2 separate regions of the Homo sapiens genome follow, and region 2 is linked to region 1. The links are contacts of gene promoters, found by promoter capture Hi-C in blood cells and fetal thymus (Javierre and others, 2016). All regions are on one chromosome and are shown on one strand. The core of a region is centred on a gene start or on the middle of the fragment in contact, and the rest is flanking DNA. Distances in the headings are between cores, read along the strand shown. Region 1 holds the start of LINC02860 (long intergenic non-protein coding RNA 2860). Region 2 overlaps SNX10-AS1 (SNX10 antisense RNA 1).

What was found. The method cuts DNA at HindIII sites, captures the fragments that hold promoters and counts their contacts. A CHiCAGO score of 5 or more calls a contact.
Region 2: a contact is called between a fragment that was not itself captured here and the fragment with the promoter of LINC02860 in region 1, in 1 of 17 cell types (megakaryocytes). The highest score is 5.1, in megakaryocytes.

The regions. Positions count from the first base shown.
Region 1 is chr7:26,635,938-26,639,428 of GRCh38, forward strand. LINC02860 (long intergenic non-protein coding RNA 2860) reads left to right here and starts at 1,934. Exons shown (of 4, transcript NR_161202.1): 1 at 1,934-1,999; 2 at 2,558-3,407. The HindIII fragment of the contact is 19,305 bases long and covers 1-3,491 here.
Region 2 is chr7:26,394,578-26,398,197 of GRCh38, forward strand. The region is part of intron 1 of SNX10-AS1 (SNX10 antisense RNA 1); the gene reads right to left. Among named protein-coding and RNA genes, the nearest start is that of LINC02981, 2.2 kb to the right of the region's middle. RefSeq lists enhancers at 3,128-3,620, 3,159-3,398. The HindIII fragment of the contact is 246 bases long and covers 1,606-1,851 here.

The DNA of each region.
Region 1 (3,491 bases), core at 684-3,183:
AAAGCATTTCTCATGGCAGTATGAGCTAGCCGTTCAAAACTACTTTATATAGATACAGTTGACCCTTGAACAATGCAGGTTTGAACTGCGAGGGTCCACTTATACATGGGCTTTTTTCAACCAGGCGTGGTTTACGGTATTCGAGGGATTTGAAACCTGCAGAGGCGGAGGGCAGACTTTTCCTCTACTCATGTTGCCCAGGTCTGACTTCGGAACTTGAGTATGCACGAACTTTGGCATGGGTGAGGGGGTCCTGGAACCAAACCCCTGTGTATACCAAGGGACAACGGTAGTGGAATTGAACAAATAAGTAAATATATTGTATATGATGAGAGCCAGGGTTTTCACTGTTGGAGAAAGATGTCACAAATAAGAGAAGAAACAAGTATAAAATGATTTCCTGTGGTATAGCTTAGAATCATGGGTATCACTATGAACTCAAGATCTTTAAAGAGGGCAGGAGAGAAGAAGACAGAGGTAGATGGGTATGTTTGTGCAGCTTAGCATGCACACATATATACCTAGCCCTCTGTTTTGAGGGCTTAAAAGCAATACCATTCCAATAACAATGGACCCATCTACAACATAGATCTTGGTCTCTCCACACCATTCTCCTGTAAAAGGAACCAGGAATCGTGAAGAAGTGGCTGATTCCCAAGCCAGGACATGGAAAACACAAGGTCAGTCTGAAACATCTTGTGGTGCCAGAAAATAAGAAAATGCTCAAAATAAAGATAAGAGTCTGTCAAAAGAGCTCGGGAACCAATGTGAAAGAGCGAAGAGCTGAGACGATCTGAGCAGCAAGATAAAGATAGCGTTACATTTTAAGCTAGACTAAAAACATCCACAAATACAATAATTAAACATCCACACTGATATGAATAAACAAACAAAAACCACATAAATAATGAAGGAGAAAAGACAGCGCTTCTGCACAGTGGAACGCCAATGAATACATGTAGAAGGGAAGAGGACAGGACTCCACAGAGTGAGCACTGCAGACAAGATCTGCTGAGGGATGCTAGCACTGGTGAGTGAAAGCTGGAGGACAAACAGGCCATGCCTAGTCTCAAAGCGTCAGCCTAGATACTTATCCACTGCAAAGGGAAAGATAATAACTTGACAGTGAGAAACCCAGCAGACACCACCTTAATCAAGTGACCAAGATCAATGTCACCAGTTATAAGATGTGGCTCTCATGAACCCCTTGAATGATGCACTGAGGAAGATGTGCCATGATTTTTGTGTATTCTCACCAAAAAGGCATAACCTTACCCCACTCATGAGAATGCACAAACAAACCCAAACTGAGGGATATTCTCCTGTGGAACCGATCCATTTTCTTCCAAAGTGTCAGGGTCATGAAAGTAAAGGAGAGACCATGGAACCGTTACCCAGTGGAGGAGAAGAAGGAGAAATACAGCTAAATGCAATTTAGGATCTTAGATTAGATCCTGAGCAGAAAAAAAGGACATTAGTGGAAAAAAATTGTGAGTTTCAAATAGGACTGTAGTTCAGTTAGTTACATTGTGCCGATGTTAATTTCCAGTTCTTAATAGTTGTACTATGGTTATATAAGATGGTGATATCAGGGGAAATGATAGAAGAGATATAAGGAAAGTATATATTACTTTTGCCACTTTTCTGTAAGTCTAAAATTAGTTCAAAACAAAAATTTCTTTAAAAAAATCCTATGTCCTTTCTTTTAACATTAGATGAGATATGTTGATTGAACTAAATAAAAAAGGACCAAGCATGGCTTTGTTTTCGAGTTATTTATGTATGCAGATTTCAGCCTTCTGGGTGAGCTTTCCTGCCGCTGAGTATCACAGATTGTTCCAACACTCACTTTCATCATTTCCTTCACGAGGAAAGAGGCCCACGAAGGTTAAATGACTTATATGAGGTCACAAAGTCACTTGGAGACAAAATCAGCAGTAGGATCTCGGTTTCCAGCCCAGTGCAATTTCTGCTCTATCCCGCTGACCTCATTGTTGAGGTAGGTGGTAATGTAAAGGGAAGAGCTACCCCTTATGGGATGTTTCTTTCTATCAGCCTTTAGAGGGTCAGGTTTATTTGCTGGTGGTAGACTGACAGCCCAACTACTTGATAGAAACCCTACGTTGATGTCAGAATGCTGGACACCGCAAAGCTCTGGGAAGCATCTTATAACAACGGCTCAACCATTTCCTCTTCAAATGTACTGCTTAATCACATAAGTTCCTGATACGGTTTGGCTGTGTCCGCACTCAAATCTCATGCTGAATTGCAGTTCCCATTATCCCTATGTGTCCTGGGAAGGACCCGGAGGGAGGTAGTTGAATCAAGGGGGCGGTTACCCTCATGCGGTTCTCGTGATAGCAAGTGAGTTCTCACGAGATCTGATGGTTTTATAGAGGCTTTCCCCTCCTTCCCTCTGCACTTCTCGCTGCTGCCACGTCGCAAAGGAAGTGTTTTCTTCTCCTTCCGCCATGATTATAAATTTCCTGAGGCCTCCCCAGCCCTGCGGAACTGTGAGTCAATTAAATCTTTTTCTTTATAAATTACCCAATCGTAGGTATGTCCTTATAGCAGTGTGAGAACCGACTAATACAGTTCCTTAGGAAGCCCCTGCTGGGTATGGATGGGGAGTGAAGCAAGGTGGGCCCAGAAGCTGCCGCTGGCTGAGAGACCATGAAGAAAGTGTATAGAATCTCCACCATCACCAGAGGAAGAGAGCTTGGCAGGAAAGTTACTTCCATGAATGGATGAGTTGAAGTGAACAGCGTCTTGGGCAAAACTGAAGGGTAGTTAGTCGGGTTTGTCTCTGGTGGGCTTTCAGCTCCACTCCCTGCATCCCATTCCCACATCGTGATGGTCCCCTCATAGGCCCAGGGCTACCACCTTGGAGCATAGGTGGGGATCCTCCAGCCAGGGTCCTTCCTTCACAGGGAGTCAGAGCCCTCTGCTCCGGAATTGCCCTGCCCCAGGTCGGCCATCTATCAAAAGCCCCACTATCCCCTAAAGACCCACCCTCAAGCAGCAGATGTGCAGCAAGGGAGCCGCAAATGTCATTCCTGTGACCCCGAAGCAGTCTAGTGTGTTACCTCTCTCAGGGCTGCTATGGGCTGAATTGCTTTTCCCCAAAATTTCTATGCTGCTTCCCTAACCCCCAGCGCCTCAGAATCTAACTCTGGATAGGACCTGTGAATAAGTGATTAAGTTAAAATGGGGTCCTGTGGATGGGCCCTAACCCAATCTGACTGGTGTCCTTTTAAGAAGAGGAAGAGACACCAGAGATGTGCACACTCAGAGACAAGACACATGAGGACACAGAGACAAGGCGGCTACCTGCAAGCCAGGGAGAGGGGCCTCGGGGAAGCCAACCCTGCCTACGCCTTGATCTTGGACTTCCAGCCTCCAGAACTGTAAGACAATAAATGCCTGTTGTTTAAGGCCCTGGTCCGTGGTATTTTGTTATGGCAGCCCTAGCAAATGGATACAGGGGTATT
Region 2 (3,620 bases), core at 479-2,978, 240 kb before region 1:
TAAAAATATTATTTATAATATATATAAATTAAAAGAGAACTAGAAGGCCTATTTAGGATAATGAAGTGACATTACAAAACAAAGACTACATGTTACAATTTTCCTATCTGCCTTCGAGAGGGGAATGACTAATAATTTTATCTTCAAACATTTCTATGATTTACACGTTTTCAAAGAGGAATATTCTGATGGTGAATAATCCAGTTATTACATTATTTGCTAAATTAAAATAATTATTTGCTATTCTCCTGACTTAATTCTCAGATGTCTACAAACTAAAGAACTTAGGGCAAAAATGGCTTAATTCAGTCAAGAATTCATATTGTTAAAGGAAAAATCCTATGTGGGATCCATAATATGGCTAGTTATTTAGTGGGGAGAAAGCAAAGCAAAAGAGCAAATATTTTACTGCACCCTAAGAAAATATCAATTGGATTCAGCCAAGCAGTTTGCTATCGACTAAATCAATATATACCATTTTTTCAAACACTATTTTTTGGTAGAAAGAACCAATATAAGAATAATCAAAGTGTGATTGGTTTTGATCTTCAAATAAAAAGCCATCATAAGTCGCTGATACTGGCCAGGCGTGGTGGCTCACGCCTGTAATCCCAGGACTTTGGGAGGCCGAGGTGGGAGGATCACCTGAGGTTGGGTGTTTGAGACCAGCCTGGGCAACATGGTGAAACCCCGTGTCTACTAGAAATACAAAAATTAGCCAGGCGTGGTGGCATGCGCCTTTAATCCCAGCTACTTGGGAGGCCGAGGCAGGAGAATTCCTTGAACCAGGGAAGCAGAGGTTCCAGTGAGCTGAGATGGTGCCACTGCACTCCAGCTTGGCCTGGGCAACAGAGTAAGACTCCATCTCAAAAAAAAAAAAAAAAAAAGAAAGAAAAGAAAAGTTGCTGATACTTTTAGTGCCTACTCAATAGCCATCCTCCCTTATTCCTTATTCCTTGGGAGCTGCCCTGTCCAGATTCTAGAGAAAAAATAAAAAAGTTTCTAAGCCACTAAGCTTTGGGATAGTTTGGCTGCAGAAATTGATGACTGGGAAACGGACTAAAATTCAGCTTTTGTTTTGGCATTGCCTGTCCTGTCAATTCCCTGCTCTCCTGCACCGCTCCCCTTACCCTCAAAATAATTCAAGACTAAATCCTGATTAGTTATCAATTCTGATAATCTTGCCTCTCTTGCCAGTGGTAGTTTAGAGATAGTCACGTGCCCTGGTTCTGGCCAATGAGAAAAGATCTGAGGGATCTTTGGTATAATTTCTCCACTCTTAAAAAATTTGAGAACAGTCAACTTTTTTGGCTGGCCTTTGCCATGTCTTAAAGTGATGCCTGGAACTATGGCAGCCATTTTGAGACCTTGAGGAGAACTAGCTAAGGACAAGGTCAGCAAGCTGAGGATGGCAGAATTTCAGAAAGACGAGAAAAACTTGACAACATTAAACATTTTTGACCCACTAAATTAACCAAACTTAGCATCTGCTACCTTGGTACTTCCTACATGAGATACTACATTTTCTTCATTTTTAAAGCTACTACAGACAGGTTTTCTATTACTGAAATCAAAGTTATCCTAAGAAAAACAAGCAGCGTATGAAGCTTTATTTTATCACATCTGACAGAACAGCTCAGCCTTAAGTTGGGAGTAAGATTTATACAATTCTGCTGATAATATTTATTACTCATTTTAATTGTTTGCATGGTAATATTGAAGCCCCCCAACTGTTAGGAAATGTGCATTATTTTAACAATACTGGGTATCAGTAAATAAAATATGCTAAATATTGCTGAAAATAAACACTAAGTAACTCAATTTGTGTCATTATATGTGAGGAATGGGAAAAGCTTCTTGGAAGAGGTGATATTTAATCTGGACTTGGAAAGATCGGTGATATTTGAACAGTTGGACATGAAGTTCAAGGGCATTCTAGAGAATGTCATGGGAGAGGAAATGCAATAGCATGATTTGGGGATGTACTGTAGTAGACAAATAAGGCTGGAGCTGGGTTAGGTGCAGATTGTGGAGGGTCTTAAATGTCTTGCTAAGGGAGTGTGGAGTGCCTTTCCTCAGCAGTGGGGAACAGAGATATTTGAGTTAGTTACTGTGTATTGATTCCAGATAAACGAATAAAGCATATAGTATGTATATATTTTTTATAGTTTTTTTGGTATATTTTCATGAAAAGTGTGTATGATTTTAGTGAAACCATAAAAATCCATTTTCATTCCAATTTAGATTCTGTTTTAAAGTAGTTGCCAAGGAAACTAGTAAGTGACTGGTTATGCCCGATTTTCCCTAAGTTCAAAATTAGATGCAAATTCTTCAAAGAGACTACTTGAAGGCCAGTAAACATTTCAAAGGCAGTCAAGCTCAGACGCCTGGGTGTGTGGGTGCAGGAGGGTTAGAAGGGGGGTTCTGATGTTCCTGGAGGGAAGAGATGCCTTGCCTGTGTAGGCAAAGAGCTACTTTGAGGGAAAAAAGCTGAATGAGTTAGAGGTGAGTGCCCAGGAAGAGAAGCTGGAAGTGAGAGGTTCCACTGAAGTGCCTAGAAACAGACACTCTTTAATGGAGACAAGACCAAATTTCTGGAGTTTTCCTTTGTTTACATCTTTTTATCTTGTCTCGTTTCAAAAAGGAGTTAACTTTAAATATGTCCCTGAATAAACACGAGGCAGCATGACTCCATCGCAGGTAGAGATAGGACTAAAACATGATTCTCCTAAACTTTAACCCTGGAGTTAGCTCACTTAATCCTGTAAATCTCTGCAAAGACTAACTTTGTTCCCTGGCTCCTCCGTGGTTGCCAGGTGGTGGATATACATTCTACAACAGAAGAAACTGGAATCGCTAGAGGTGTCTTTTTTTAGGGCAAGGAAGCATTTCCCAGAAAACCCCAACAGATGTCCCCTGGCTTGGCCTTGGCCAGGACTGGTCACATGCTCTTTTCTAAGCCAGTGCCTGGGCAAGGGAAGGGGTTGGTCATAACGGATTTAGACTACTTAGGATTTACTTCTGGGCCAAGGAGAGGGAGGGGGTGAGGGAGGGGGTGAGGGAGGGGGTGAGGGAGGGGGTGAGGGTGGGGGCGGGGGGCTGGCCCGGCCTAAGATGGCTGGGGGTGATGCGTTCGGGGGACAAAGGAGTGCTGGACAGTTGTGTGAGCTGTAAGAAGGACCCGGAAAATACTGCAGAGTGATTGAGAGTGTAGAGGGGCCTGGGTTCTCACCTGTGCTCCCTCCCACCTTAGCTGGGTTATGCTGGGAACCTTTCAAGGCTTTGCTAAGCCTGGGTTTCCAGGAGTGCAATAAGATCGCTGTGATAAACATGTAGGTAAAGCAGTTGGCATAGTACCTTGCGTAGAATAGTCCTCAGCATATGTTTACTACTGTCGTTGTTGCTATTAATAAAAGTGACCTAGCTCCTCTCCTCGAGAAGTTCACAAGGGGCCCAAATGTGACAGGGGGAGCTATCAGAAGGCGGGAGGTGACTTCTTGCCAGGGAGCAAGCCAGGGCAAGAAGAGAGGCGCCGTGAAGCCTGCGTTCCCTCCCGCACGCGGCTTGCCTCGGTGGCCACACGGGGAGCTCAGCAAGGCCCAGGGTTCGGGAGGCGGGTC